5 separate regions of the Homo sapiens genome follow, and regions 1, 2, 3 and 5 are each linked to region 4. Evidence: promoter capture Hi-C in 16 types of primary human blood cells and fetal thymus (Javierre and others, 2016). All regions are on one chromosome and are shown on one strand. Each heading gives the region's core, a stretch centred on a gene start or on the middle of the fragment in contact. The rest is flanking DNA. Distances are from core to core; before and after follow the strand shown.

Region 1 (2,700 bases), core at 67-2,566, 560 kb after region 4:
GACACTGGATAGTATGGAGAATTTTCTTGGGATCGCCCCCAAACCTGCACAGTCCCGGAGGGCTCCATGTGACAGGAGACCCCTGTTGGCACCCCAGGACCCTCGGGGATGTCCACAGTCCCAAGGCCACAGAGCCAAGAGGGCAGGAGTGGGTCAGAAGGGCCAACATGTGAATCTGTCAGGCTAGGCAGCAAAAGTTCAACCAAAAAATTTTTCCTCAGCCCCTGCCAAGTGCAGGGTTCTGACCACCATGCTGAGGATGAAGATGAAGACAGCATAAGCTCTGCCTCTAGAAACTGACAATCTGCATGGAGAGGAAAGACATATGCAGGTTGGAACAGTAAGATGGGAAACACCTCTACACGGCCGAGTGACCTATTCCTTGGGTCAATGAGGAGCTGTTAGAGCAGAGGGCAGTGCAGCGGGGATGATGGGAGATTCCTGGAGCTCAGAGAAGAAGGGGAGTGAAGGCAAGGATATGGGAATGTGAAGGGCACATTTGGGACCCTAGAGTGTAGGGTTTACAGATAGGAACGGGGGAGAAAAGGTGAAAAATAATATGGGAAATGCAAGGCCTTGAACGGCAGGTTAAAGAGTGTGTCTGTTATCCCACCAGTAATCAGCCCTGGGGATGGTTTTTGAGCAAGACGGTGAGTTGCAGAGTAAAGTAGTAGTTCGGGAGGAAATCTCTGGAAGTGGCGTGGACAATGGATTCCAGGCTGTGAGAAGAAACTCCTGGAGTCAAGAGGACTGGGTCAGAAGCTACTGGACATAGCTCAGGATCCAGACACTAAGAGCTTGGATTAGAGTGTGTATGGGAGAGGGGAGAATTCAGGAATAAACATTTGAAATGGTTAAAGGCCATGGGACCCAGGTGCTCATTTGCTATGGGAGATGGAGAAGATGTGAAGCTTTAATGACTAACGTGGTACCAAGGGCAGAAAAAGGGCATGCTCTCCACAGCCACGCAGCCATCAAGTGGCAGGGGCAGGGCATAATCAATGAATTCTACACAGTCTCTGCCCTTAAGGGACTCACATCCTCTTTTTTCATCCTCAGCTCTTCGGAAAAGGCCCTAAGAAGCCATCAAAGATATGTCATGGAGGAAGCCATCGAAGAGGAAAGAGGAAGCTTTGTAACAGGTACTTTACCTGTATTCTCAGAAATCCTCAAAATAACCAAAGGAGCTCTGGGACCAGCTGCTCAGGGCAGGGGGCTCTGAGCTCCACAGCACTCCAGGTTTCCTCCAGGGATGTTTAGTCCAGGGCACCAAGTGGACAGGCAAACAGACAGGCTGGTGAAAGCCCTGTGGGGGGATGAGGTCCAACCTTTGGCTGGAGATCAGCCTGTGCTCTAGCTGTCAGAGAACTGAGCAAAGACAAGGACTCCCATCAGCAAGTCAGACAGAGAAGGGTTTGGGGACACGGGGAAGTTTGGTTTTGGCTGTGTTGAAGTTGACAGGATGATGAGGCCCTGAAACAACAGGTAGATCCAAGCTTGGGTGACAGGTCAGGGCTTGAGTCCAAGGCTTGGGGTCACCTGCCAGAGACCGTGATTTGAGGCCACTGGTCAAGTTCATGCTTCTTTTCTTTCTTTTTTTTTTTTTTTTGAGATGGAGTCTCACTCTGTCCCCCAGGCTGGAGTGCGATGGTGCAATCTCGGCTCACTGCAACCTCTGCCTCCCGGGATTAAGTGATTCTCCTGCCTTAGCCTCCGAAGTAGCTGGGATTACAGGGGCCCACCACCATGCCAGGCTAATTTTTGTATTTTTAGTAGAGATGGGGTTTCTCTATGTTGGTCAGGCTGGTCTCAAACTCCTGACCTCAGGTGATCCACCCACCTTGGCCTCCCAAAGTGCTGGGATTACAGTCATGAGCCACCGCAGCTGGCCAAGTTCATGATGCTTTAGAGCAAAGTTGACATTGGTACCTCTTAAACAAATTTATATTCCCTCTCAACCAGTTTACCTGGGAGGAATAACAAGCTGCCATATGAATACTGATGAGAAAGGAGGTGGGAGAGACATTTGATCATCAATCAAGTTATGATTATGAACACTCAGTTAAGAAAGAAATGTGAAGTCAGTGTTCCTGAACATGAAGAACAAGACCAGGGGTTGGGTTTTGGAGTCACACGGACTTTTTTTGTTCCAGCTCATTTGTCTTTTTACCCATTAATAAATTAATCTAAACTCTAGATTCCAGAGCCAGTTTGATCTCTTTCAGGAGGCCCTGTGTCAATTTGGTTTCGACCTCCTGGTCCTGAGGGTTGATACTGAGTGCTACATACTCATTCACTGAGCAGTGTGTTAATTCTGGGGCTGCTGTGTTGAGTGAGACAGACTCAATTTCTACCCTCCAACTCCAAGAAGGAAGTGAAGTAGGTCCCTAGAAAAATGTCAGGTAATTAAGGGAAAAGCCTAGGGGTCATCCATGTTGAGAATGGAGGCAGATGCTATGGTCTGAAAGTTTATGTCCCTCAGAACTTGTATGCTGAAACCTAACCTCCAAGGGGATGATGGATGGTATTAGAGTTGGGGGATTGGGTCATGATGGCAGCACCCTCACGAATGGAATTAGTGCCTCTTATAAAAGAGAGACCTCTTGCCCCATCTACCATGTGAAGACACATGAGAAGATGCCATCTGTGACCCAGGAAATGCCTGCATTAGAAACCAGATCTGCCGGTGCCTTGAGCTTG
Region 2 (2,700 bases), core at 118-2,617, 780 kb after region 4:
TAAGCAAATTCTGAGTTCACTGTAGGTGTGTGGATTTGTTTCTGGATTCTCTGTTCCACTGGTCTGTGTGTCTGTTTTTCTGCCTGTGCCGTGCTATTTTGGTTACTATACCTCTGTACTGTAATTTGAACTCAGGTAATGTGATTCCTCTAGTTTTGTTCCTTTTGCTCAGAATGACTTTGGCTATTCAGGGTCTTTTGTGATTCCATATAAATTTTAGTATTGTTTTTTCTATTTCTGTGAAGAATGTCATTGGTATTTTGATAGGAATTGCACTGGATTTGTCGACTGCTTTGTGCAGTATGGACATTATAACAATATTGATTCTTCCAACCCATGAACATGAAATATCTTTCCATTTGTTGCCATCCTCTTCAATTTCTTTCATCAGTATTTTATAGTTTTCATTGTAGCGATACTCACTTCTTTGGTTAATTCCTAGGTACTTCATTTTACTTGTGGCTCTTGTAAATGGGATTACTTTTTAAATTTCTTTTTTTCAGATTGTTCACTGTTAACATACAGAAATGCCACTGATTTTTGTATGCTGATTTGGTATCCTGTAACTTTACTGAATTTGTTTATCAGTCCTAACAGTTTTTTAGTGGAGTCTTTAGGTTTCTCCAAATATAAGATCGTATCATCTGCAAACAAGAATAAGTTGGCTTCTTCCTTTCTAATTTGGATGCCCTTTATTTCCTTCTCTTGTCTGACTGCTCTAGCTAGGACTTCCAGTACTATAACAAATAAGAGTGGTAAAAGTGCACAACCTTGTTGTGTTCCAGATCTAAGAGGAAACGCTTTCAGTTTTTCCACAGGCAAACGTTTAAGAAGAATTGTCTCCATTTGCTGTTTTGATTTCCTTATCACACTATCTTCTCAACTCATTTCAGTAGGGCTTCTGCTGCCACATACCATTAAAACTACAGTTCCTAAACTTACCAAGAACCCTAATGTCACTTAATCTAATGTGTGGTTTTTGTTTTGTTTTGTTTTTGAGACAAGGTCTCACTCTGTCGCCTAAGCTAGAGTGCAGTGGTGTGATCTCAGCTCACGGTAGCCTCAACCTCCCAGGCTCAAGAGATCCTCCCACTTTAGCCTTCAGAGTAGCTGAGACTACAGATGTGTGCCACCATGCCTGGCTAATTTTTTTATTTTGTAGAGATAAGGGTCTCACTATGTTGTCTAGGCTGGTCTCATACTCCTAGACATAAGTGACCCTCCAGCTTCAGCCTCCCAAAGTGCTGGGATTATAGGTGTGAGCCATCACACCTGGCCTAATGATTTTCGTTAGTCCTCATCCTAGTGGCCCTTTTGGTAGCATAAAACAGAGTTGGCTATATAGTTCTTAATCCTCCCTACTGTGTACTTTGTAATAGTATAGACCACTTATGTGACAGTACAATTTAGCTTGTTTTTCTTTGTCTTTTTAAAATTTTCTTTAAGTATAACACACATATGCTCAATGAATTATCACAAAGTGAACACACCTGTGTAATTCCTACCCAAGTCAACAAACAGAACACCACTGGCACTCCAGAATCCACCTTTATATTTCTCCCAATCACTATTCATGCCTCCTCCCCAAAAGTAACCACCATCCTAATAACTAACACCATAGATTAGTTTTAACGGTTTTGGAACTTGATATAAACGGAATCAGACAGGATGTACTAATTTGTGTCTGTTCCTCAGTGAACTCTTCGTTAAAATATCTGTTCAAGCCTCTTGCTCATTTTCTACGAGGAAGCATTTATATATACTAGATAAAAGCCCTTTGTTCATTATAGGTGTTGCAAATATATTATTCTACTCTGTGGTTTGCCTTTTCATTCTCTTAATGATGTACTGATTGACAGAATTCTTAATCTTAATATAGTCCAATGTATCAATTATTTCCATTACAATTTGTGTTTTTTGTATTGTTTAAGACAAACTTGTCCAACCCACGGTCCATGGGCTGCATGCAGCCCAGGATGGTTCTGAATGCAGCCCAACACAAATTCTTAAACTTTCTTAAAACATTATGAGATTTTTGCATGAACCTTTTTTTTTTTTAAGCTCATCAGCTGTCGTTAGTGTTAGTGCATTTTGGGTGTGGTCCAAGACAATTCTTCTTCTGATGTGGCCCAGGAAAGCGAAAAGATTGGACACTCCTGACTTAAGAAATCTTTCTTTATCCAAGATCATGAAAATATCCTACACTATTTCTAGAAGTTTTATTGTATTATCTCTCTTGTTCAGATCTTGGAATTGATATTGTGCATGGTTATAAGGTCACTATCTTATAGGTCAATTCCTCCTCATTCCCACCCCACTCCAAAAAGATATGTTATTGAGCCAGCACCAATGACTAAAAAGACTGTCTTTTCTCTCACTGCCGTGAGGGAAATGTCACACCAAATGTCCTTATATATGGGATAACTTCAAGACTCTCTATTCTATTTCACTATTCTATTTGTTTATTCTTCCACCAACACACTATTATACTTTGTTTTTTTTTGAGATGGAGTGTCGCTCTGTCTCCCAGGCTGGAGTGCAGTGGCTCAATCTTGGCTCACTGCAACCTCCACCTCCTGGGTTCAAGCGATTCTCCTGCCTCAGCCTCCTGAGTAACTGGGACTACAGGCACATGCCACCACACTCGAGACAGGGTTTCACCATATTGACCAGGCTGGTCTTGAACTCCTGACCTCGTGA
Region 3 (2,700 bases), core at 160-2,659, 720 kb before region 4:
AGCGGTGACTCAGTCACGCGGGCTACACCTGAGCAGACAGCAGTTGGGGGTGCGTCTGGCCAAGGGCATCAGTCCCTGCCAGAGAAGAGAAGGAAAGGCTCATGAGAGCTGGACAGGGAGGCTGAGGACAGACAGGCTCCTGCTGGCCCCCAGTTGTGACCCCAGCTTCTAGAGTGGAAGTCTCTCCAGGGGTTTGCTTCTTGAGGTAAACCTCCACAGCTGCCTTGGTTTCCGAGGCCCCAGCCTAAGAACCTGAGGACAGACCTGTAAGGTTACACCTATCCCAGCTTTGTCTCCTTCCCTCTGTGCTGCTGCTGGAAGCCTGTGCCCAGGGCAGCGGCAGGATGCTGGGCACATGTCTGGGAGGTGACGGCGAGTGGGGCAGGGCGCTCGGCTGGCTTTCTCCTGCTCCACTGGAGGATCTGGATCTGTGCTCAGTGGATGTGTCCTTGTTGCCTGCATGACTGACCCTGCTCTTAACATACCTCTTTCCCAGCCCCTTTCCCACGGTTTCCCGGGCCTATTTTTCCCAGTGCCCGGGCTGCACACTTCCTTCCCCTACTCCAATATCCTGACTTCTATCAGGCCAAAGATGGTGACTGGACAGCCAGATGAGCAAGTTCAGGCTGCTGCGCTGATGGTGGAGGGGGAGGCAGGGCCCTCCCGAGACATCCAGGAATCCAGGGTAGGCTAATTTTTGGGGGTCTCTTTACATTGTTTCATTTGTTTATTCATTTAACCAATCAGTCTAACCCAGGACAGTGTTGACCTTTCTTTTTTTTTTTTTCTGAGACACAGTCTTGCTCTGTCACTCAGGGTGGAGTGCCACTGCAACCTCGGCCTCCCGGGTTCAAGCTATTCTCCCGCCTCAGCCTCCCAAGTAGCTGGTACTACAGGCACATGCCACCGTGCCCAGCTATTTTGTGTTTTTAGTAGAGATAGAGTTTCACCACATTGGCCAGGCTGGTCTCAAACTCTTGACCCTAAGTGACCCTCCTGCCTTGGCCTCCCAAAGTGCTGGGATTACAGGCTTGAACCACTATGCCCGGCCAGGACAGTGTTGATCTTTAAATAACCACTCAACATTATTCGGAAGAGTCTGGACCCTACACTGAGAGAAGGAGGGAGAGGAGGGATGCCCTGTAGGGGTGATGCTCAGCCCTGGCTCAGAGGAAAGGCCCCCCCTGGGTGGGGGATGTTTGTATTGGGGAGGAAACCCAGCCATTAACCACATCCACAGAGCCACCTTCCCAAGGGGACAGGGCTAACCACCTCCAGGTTCTCACCCTCGGCCAGAAACTGGAGGTCAAAGGACAGACATTAGCATGATGCCTCACGGACTGGGGCTGTCTGAGCCCAGCAGCTCTCAGGGGCAGAGCCCTGGGGAAAGCTGAGAAGGAGGCAGAGTGACTGCGTGACAGAACAGCCCTGTCCCCGTATCACCTCTCTCCTAGATCTAGGCCTTCCTACACTCTCCCAGCTCCTGCCTTGGACATTCTGGGCACTTAGGCTTTCTTTTCTCCAAGATGTTCTCATTCACATTAACCTGTGATGTAGAGTTTAATGCGACTGGGTATCACAGTGGGGCTCTTGCTGCACGAGTTCTGACAGGGCAAAGGATAGAAATCAGAAGGTGAAAGTGAGCCTGGGGCAGGGCCCTCTGCCCCTGGCTGTGCACAGACTGTACAATGGGAATGTAAAAGCATCTGTCTCAGGATCCGTGGATGCTTTCACCCACTTTATAAAATACATATAGGACCATAACTTGGTGAAGGTTTGCTGAGGAGATTTCCATGGTGAGAGGTGTTGCTGAGCTATGTATCCCAAGGGAGGAGAGCTCTGGGGCTGGCTGTCTTGAGTCAATATTGTGTAAGTGTCAACAGGGAGAAGACCTGAACTGAAGAGGCTGCAGGCGGCCTCCAGATGCCCAGAGGCTGAGCAAGGGGTTGCAAAAGACTCCTGGAAGAGAGATGCAGTGCTTGAGTGGGTGAAGGGAACTTCGGAAGAGAGGGGTCCAGCCCAGCAGGGAACCCCAGGAGAGCCCACAAAAACATTTCCAAAAGCAGGAGCCAGTTTTAAGTTTCTCTAAGCTCTCTAACCAGTAAGAACCCCGAATTTCGATCCCGGCCAGTGGTAAAACAGCAGCTCCTGGGCGGGTGGTAGGGAAGAGAGAACAGGGCGGTGTAGACAGCAGAGGGACGTGTGGGGGCCCACCTCAGGTGCTTCCAGCTTGAGCAGAGAGAAACTGGAAGAAAGGAGAAAAACAATGCGGTCAGAGTAAGAGCGTTTCATTACTCATGATTATTATGCATTCCTTTTTTTTTTTTTGAGACGGAGTTTTGGGAGTTTTGCTCTGTTGCGCAGGCTGGAGTGAAGTGGCACAATCTCGGCTCACTGCAACCTCCGCCCCACCAGGTTAAAGCGATTAATGCTGGCTTTAAGGCAGGATGCCTCAGCCTCTCAAGTAGCTCAGATTATAGGCGCCCGCCACCACCCCCGGCTAATTTTTGTATTTTTAGTAGAAATGGGGTTTCACCATGTTGTCCAGGCTGGTCTCAAACTCCTGACCTCAGGTGACCCACCTGCCTCAGCCTCCCAAAGTACTAGGATTACAGGCGTGAGCCAGCATGCCCGGCCTATGATGCATTCTAATGTCTGAGTGGACTGTATCTATAACTTACAGTAACTATAAGGCTATCA
Region 4 (2,700 bases), core at 110-2,609:
AGAGCAAGCCTCCGTCTCAAAAAAAAAAAAGAAAAGAAAGGGACACTTTTAATCACAACCCAGAATTTCTGATCAGTTCTCTCTGGATAGTTCCAGCCCCCTCTGAGAGGTAGCTGTTTCTGTTTAGAGTGAAACAAGGTGCTCTGGGCCTGACAAACAGCTCAGTTTGCCTGGGCTATTAAGCTAGAGGCTAAAAAGGGGCTTCCCTGACTCAAGCATTTGGTACTCCCTCAAAACTTCAGTCAGACTGTGGCAGTTCCTGCTTGTCGGGAGGCTGGGCAGGATGACGAAAGGTCCCTTGCATCTAACCATTTCCCCTGGACTGCCTCCCCTCCCCACAGATCCCTAGCCCCTTGAAGCCATGCGGGGTCCAACCTGTAAAGTTGTTGGAGATTCTGCAATCCCCTCTAGGGCAGCAGTCTTTGAAGCTGCAGTACCACGTGGTCAGGAGGTCCAGGTACCGCTGGCCCAACAGAGGAAGGCGCCAGCCTGGAAAAGGAGGAGCTGTGAGACCGAGAGGAGACCATCCGGTGCTCTACAGTGATGCGGCAACCTTGCCACACAACTTGTCAGGGACAGAGGGACACCCAGAACTCAGATTCTAACTCCCAGCCCCGACTCGGCCCACTGTCGGTCCTCAAGCCCTGCGTCCAAAAGCAGCAAGGGAGACGGCAGTCACCAGGCATGTCCACAGCGGACGTTCCCTAGAGCTGTCAAGAGCAACACCTTCGAATAACGCCAGGGTGGGCTGGGAGATGGCACAGGCGGTGCGAGAGAATCTGGAAAGCGCAGGGATCAGGGGAGGCGGGGGACGGGAAGCCGGGCGCCAGGGGGGTGCGCAGGGGACGCGGGTGGGGCAAGGGCGGTGATGGGGCTCCCTGCTCCGCGGAGGCTGCCCCCGCCCACAGCCGGTACCGGCGGCTGAGCAGAGCAGGACTGCGGGCCCAGATGTCGCCCCGGACAGGAGCGAGGCGACCACAGCCGCGCCCGGATCGCACTCTGCTCCGCAGCGAACGGCGGACCGTGGGGACGGGGTCTTACCCAGGGGCCCCGTGGCTGCCTCCTCGTCCTCGTCACAGTCGTCGGGCCACACCTGGCAGCTGAAGAGCGTCCAGTACCGCTTGGAGAGGGCACCCGCCGCCCTGAGCTGCTCCTGCAGGCGCTGGAAGCCCGGCCAGGCCCAGGCCGAGCCCGGCTCGTCGGTTCCCTCCCACGGCCTGGAGGCGCCGCGGGGCTCAGGCGCGCCCGGGAGCAGCAGCAGGAAAAAGAGCCAAAGCTGGCGCCACGGACCGCGAAGCATGGCCGGCCCCGAGCTGCGGGACCATCCGGCTGCCGGCCTAGCCAGGCTCCCTTAAGCCCGGGGCGGTCAGGCGGGGACCGCACTTCCTAGGCGGGCTTGAACCCGGGATTGGTGTTGCTGTGGCGACCGGCGGGCCGGGCTGAGTGCGCACTGGCAGCCTCCGTACACGTGACCCAGGCGGGAACCCGAAACCCTGTCTGGGGTCCTGAGAGGCAGTCCCGAGACTGACTTCAGGCCAGGTGCAACTAGCCGGCTTCCAGGAAGCAGTTTATTCTGGGTCGTGATTGTGGTTGCAAAGAAGGTGAACTCAGGCTTTGAAATGGCCACTGTCAATCACTCCGCTAGGACTTTCGGACGGCTCTGGTGGCCCATCAGAGGCCTACCGAATAAGGACACTCCTGCTTTGCCTCGCGTTTGCAGATCAACTTCCCGCCAACCTGTTAGAGGAAGCCGGAAAACCGTCTCAGTCAGGAGCGTTAGGCAGGCCAGGGGAGTCAGCTGAGTGGAGAAGAGGCCCTGGAAAGAAGGGCACAGCTAGGTGCCTGTCTGGCCAAGGTTGCCCTGGCTCCTCCGCAGAGGGAAATGAAACCGCAGCAAAACACCAGCAGGTTTCCACAGTGGGAGTCCACGAAAAGCAAGAGGAAGCTGATTGACGGGCTCCAGTCTGGAGGTGTTTGGAGTTTGGAAACCCCCCGAGTCATGGGTAAATCATGAGGCGTCATGTCAATGTAATTATATCTCATAAAAATCCGAAGTACTGTGTGCACTTTCTTGACTAGGTTTGCAACTTTCAAGTGCTGGGACTGAGCAGCCCATCCGACACCATTGGCAAAAGACTACAGGGCCTCTTTCCCTCAGCGCTCTCTTCTCCATAGCGAGGAGCATGGAACAAGGCTGTTAGATTTCAGAAGAGCTTAATGCATTGTTTAAAATCACCTGGCTTACTTCAGCCAAGCCAAAAAGCCGTCTTGTCTTAGGAGAAAACTGCTGTCTAGAGAGATCAGAGGACTTGGCTAATGTCATATGTTTAGTGGCTTTGAGGTTGGGCCCTCCAGACAGTAAGGTGAATACTAGCACCGTGTCTCACAAATGTCACAGGCAACTTGATTCATCTGTTCACCCCAGTCTCTTAGATCACACCGTGCCAGGTCTGCTCCATTCTCAGCAGCTCACCAAATTTGTGCCTTTCATTCGAACAGCTACAGAAACTAGATAAAGCACCTTTGCTAGGACACGAGGTTGAGTTGAAAAGTAAAATGTTTATAGTGTCTCAGCCATTCAGTGTGATGTCAAAAACTTTTCATAGAGTAGCAGCCATGGCACCAGCCCAGCACTGTGTACATCGAGCTTGCGGAGTCCACCGGAGACAGTTAACAGCACATACACCACAGTGCTTATTG
Region 5 (2,700 bases), core at 113-2,612, 750 kb before region 4:
CCTGATGTGCAGCTGGAAGTAGAGGGATTGGCCCTGGAGTCTCCACTGGCTGGGCTGGGAATGGTTCTAGACACTGGTCTCAGGCTGGACAGATGCGTGTTTGTTCCCCATGCTCCTGCGCAAGGGGCAGAGCTACAGTTGCTACTGATGTACCAAGAGGCTGACTGTCCTCAGTGTGTCCACTCCAGGAGAGAACCATGGCCTCATGTGCTTGCAGCCCTGCCTGGCCACTCAGGGTGCTTTACGTTGCTGCAGTGCTCTTGGTTTCATGCCACTGCCTTTGGGAGACAGCAGTGTCTGTGGATACCTCTCTGGACCTGGATACCCAGGTCAGTCAGCAGCTCCTGAAAAACCTGCACCTGAAAAAGTCCCAGCCCTGACCTCCAGACTGCTGCCAGTGGCTCTAGAATCCTACCTTTCACAGCTGGACATGGAAGCAAGAAGGGTGGTGGCACCATATTGGGTAAGTTGGCTTTGGGGAGTTTCAGTCTGGAAGAATCTATAAATGACCAGCTAGTTTTGTTAGGTTGGTCCCGATTGCTGTGTAATTCCCAAAAGGGAAGAAGCTCAGAGAAGCAGGGAGAAAGAAACTGAAAACTCAGATGCTACCAAAGGAGTGTGGCTTTGGTTGTTCAATACTTCGTGCTCCAGATCATGAAGCTGATGAGGAAAGCCCTGGCAGGTCTCCGAGTGCTCTGAGGTACAGGTCCGAGCAGACGCCCCAGCTCCAAGTCCTCAAATTACCCCGTTTGTTGCAAATGGACTGTGGAATCATTTTCCCCAGGAGTTCAAACTACAATCTTACTAAACCTCTGCCATCATCATGTGCTTGGGTGTAAATGAAGCCCCAGTATTTAATCCTCTTAAAGCTTGTAACCTAACAGGATGTGGAGGAATTGAACTCTGGGACACTGTTGGTGGGATCGCAAAATGTTGCAGCTGCTGTGGCAAACGGGATGGGGATGGTGGTTCCTCAAAAAATTACAAATAGTATTACCACATGATCCAGCAACTCTACTTCTAGGGACAGAAGTAGAATTCCCAAAAGAATGGAAAGCATGGTCTCAACAACAATGTATTTCTTTTCTTTTTTTTTTTTTTTGAGATGGGATTTCCCTCTTGTCTCCCCGGCTGGAGTGCAATGGCGCAATCTCCTCTCACTGCAATTTCCGCCTCCTGGGTTCAAGCGAGTCTCCTGCCTCAGCCTCACAAGTAGCTGGGATTACAGGTGCCCACCACCACGCCCGGCTAATTTTTGTATTGTTGGTAGAGACTGGGTTTCACCATGTTGGCCAGGCTGGTCTCGAACTCCTGACTTCAGGTGATCTGCCCACCTCAGGCTCCCAAAGTGCTGAGATTACAGGCATGAGCCACTGCGCCTGGCTCTCAATGATGTATTTCTACACCCATGTTCATAGCAGTGTTATTCACAGTAACTAAAATGTGGAGGCAACCCATTTATCCATCCACAGATGAATGGATAAGTAAAGTATAGCATACATACAATGACATATTATTCAGCCTTAAAAGGAGGGAAATTCCGACCTGCCACATGAGATGAGCCTTGAGAACGTTATGCTGAGTGAAATAAGCCATTCACAAAAAGACAAATACCGTATGATTCCACTTATGTGAGGCACTTAGAGTGGGCAAAATCATAAAGGCAGAAAGTTAGAATGGTGGTTGCCTGGGGCTGGGGGTTGAGGGAATGGGGAGCTTTTGTTTTATGGGTATAGAGTTTCAGTTTTGCAAGATGAAGAGTCACGGCAGTGGATGGTGGTGACGGTCACACATTATGAATGTGCTTGATACCACTGAACTGCTGCCCACTTAATGGTGAAGGTGATAAGCTTTATATGTGTATTTTACCACAGTGAAAGACATTGAAAAGAAAAAAAAAAACCCTCCAGCCTATGAAAGACAGGAGTGCATCTGGTTCCTTCAGCTGGCTTTGGCTGGCTGTAAAGCGTGTGCAAGGCCTGTGTTGGGTGCTGGGGCCAGTGCAGTGGGGAATCCAGCCTCAAGGAACAACCTGTCCGCAAGGGAAAATATAGGGCATGCCAGATACCAGCAATCCAGCAACACGCGGGGAGGTGGAGAGAGGATGTTTTGCTTATCCAGAAAAGGGAGTGATTGCTTCCAGGGGCCTCAGGGGAATAAATCATAGAATCCTGGACAAGGTTTGAAGGACAGGTAGGATTTGGGTGGGTGGAGGAGGGTGCATGGGGTCAGAATTGTAACCGAAAACTCATTCCAGGTGGATAGAGAAAATTTCTAGTGTTGTTGTTTTTAAACTATTTGGGGGACTGGCACAGACCCTTTTTGAATACCTGATGGGCTCACATTTCTGTCGAATCCCAGCGGGTTCCTAGACCTCAGGATCATTTAAATGGATCCGTTTGGGTGGGGTTCAGGGCCAAGGTCTGGCGATGCCAGGAGTGTATGCCTGGTTTGTTCCCTCACCCCTACTCCTGTGGTCAGTGCTCCGCTTGCTGGGACATCCTGGGACCACGAGGAGATGGCCCAGTGCAGCAAGGCCTGGAGAGAAGGCTGTGGGGTCTACCCCAGTGAACAGCTTCTGCCTGGGGACCTGTGAGTGGTCTGCCCCGAGGCTTCTGCCATCCATCTCCTCAGCTGGCACAGCCCAGGACCTCAGTGTGCTCACAGCCTGGGAGGAAGGAGGCCAGGCCAGGCCGCATA

What was found. The method cuts DNA at HindIII sites, captures the fragments that hold promoters and counts their contacts. A CHiCAGO score of 5 or more calls a contact.
Region 1: a contact is called between a fragment that was not itself captured here and the fragment with the promoter of TOR3A in region 4, in 3 of 17 cell types (naive B cells, erythroblasts and endothelial precursors). The highest score is 7.0, in naive B cells.
Region 2: a contact is called between a fragment that was not itself captured here and the fragment with the promoter of TOR3A in region 4, in 1 of 17 cell types (naive B cells). The highest score is 6.3, in naive B cells.
Region 3: a fragment that was not itself captured here is called in contact with the fragment with the promoter of TOR3A in region 4 in 5 of 17 cell types (neutrophils, naive CD8 T cells, naive B cells and 2 more); the score reaches 15.1 in neutrophils.
Region 5: a fragment that was not itself captured here is called in contact with the fragment with the promoter of TOR3A in region 4 in 1 of 17 cell types (neutrophils); the score reaches 5.6 in neutrophils.

What each region holds. Positions count from the first base shown.
Region 1 is chr1:178,525,661-178,528,360 of GRCh38, reverse strand. LOC105371631 (a long non-coding RNA gene) reads left to right here. Exons shown (of 5, transcript XR_922310.3): 3 at 222-331; 4 at 1,060-1,142; 5 at 1,963-2,196. Among named protein-coding and RNA genes, the nearest start is that of TEX35, 14 kb to the right of the region's middle. The HindIII fragment of the contact is 365 bases long and covers 1,134-1,498 here.
Region 2 is chr1:178,302,820-178,305,519 of GRCh38, reverse strand. The region is part of intron 3 of RASAL2 (RAS protein activator like 2); the gene reads right to left. Among named protein-coding and RNA genes, the nearest start is that of CLEC20A, 190 kb to the left of the region's middle. The HindIII fragment of the contact is 8,677 bases long and covers 1-2,700 here.
Region 3 is chr1:179,805,173-179,807,872 of GRCh38, reverse strand. FAM163A (family with sequence similarity 163 member A) reads right to left here. Exons shown (of 5, transcript NM_173509.3): 2 at 1-75. Among named protein-coding and RNA genes, the nearest start is that of MIR12116, 2.6 kb to the right of the region's middle. The HindIII fragment of the contact is 8,201 bases long and covers 1-2,700 here.
Region 4 is chr1:179,080,729-179,083,428 of GRCh38, reverse strand. It overlaps TOR3A (torsin family 3 member A), which reads right to left and starts at 1,359. Exons shown (of 6, transcript NM_022371.4): 1 at 1,042-1,359; 2 at 376-489. The coding sequence starts at 1,300. RefSeq lists silencers at 785-954, 1,095-1,384. The HindIII fragment of the contact is 9,470 bases long and covers 1-2,700 here.
Region 5 is chr1:179,826,158-179,828,857 of GRCh38, reverse strand. It overlaps LINC02818 (long intergenic non-protein coding RNA 2818), which reads left to right. Exons shown (of 3, transcript XR_001738312.3): 2 at 1-463. Among named protein-coding and RNA genes, the nearest start is that of LINC02818, 9.1 kb to the left of the region's middle. The HindIII fragment of the contact is 981 bases long and covers 872-1,852 here.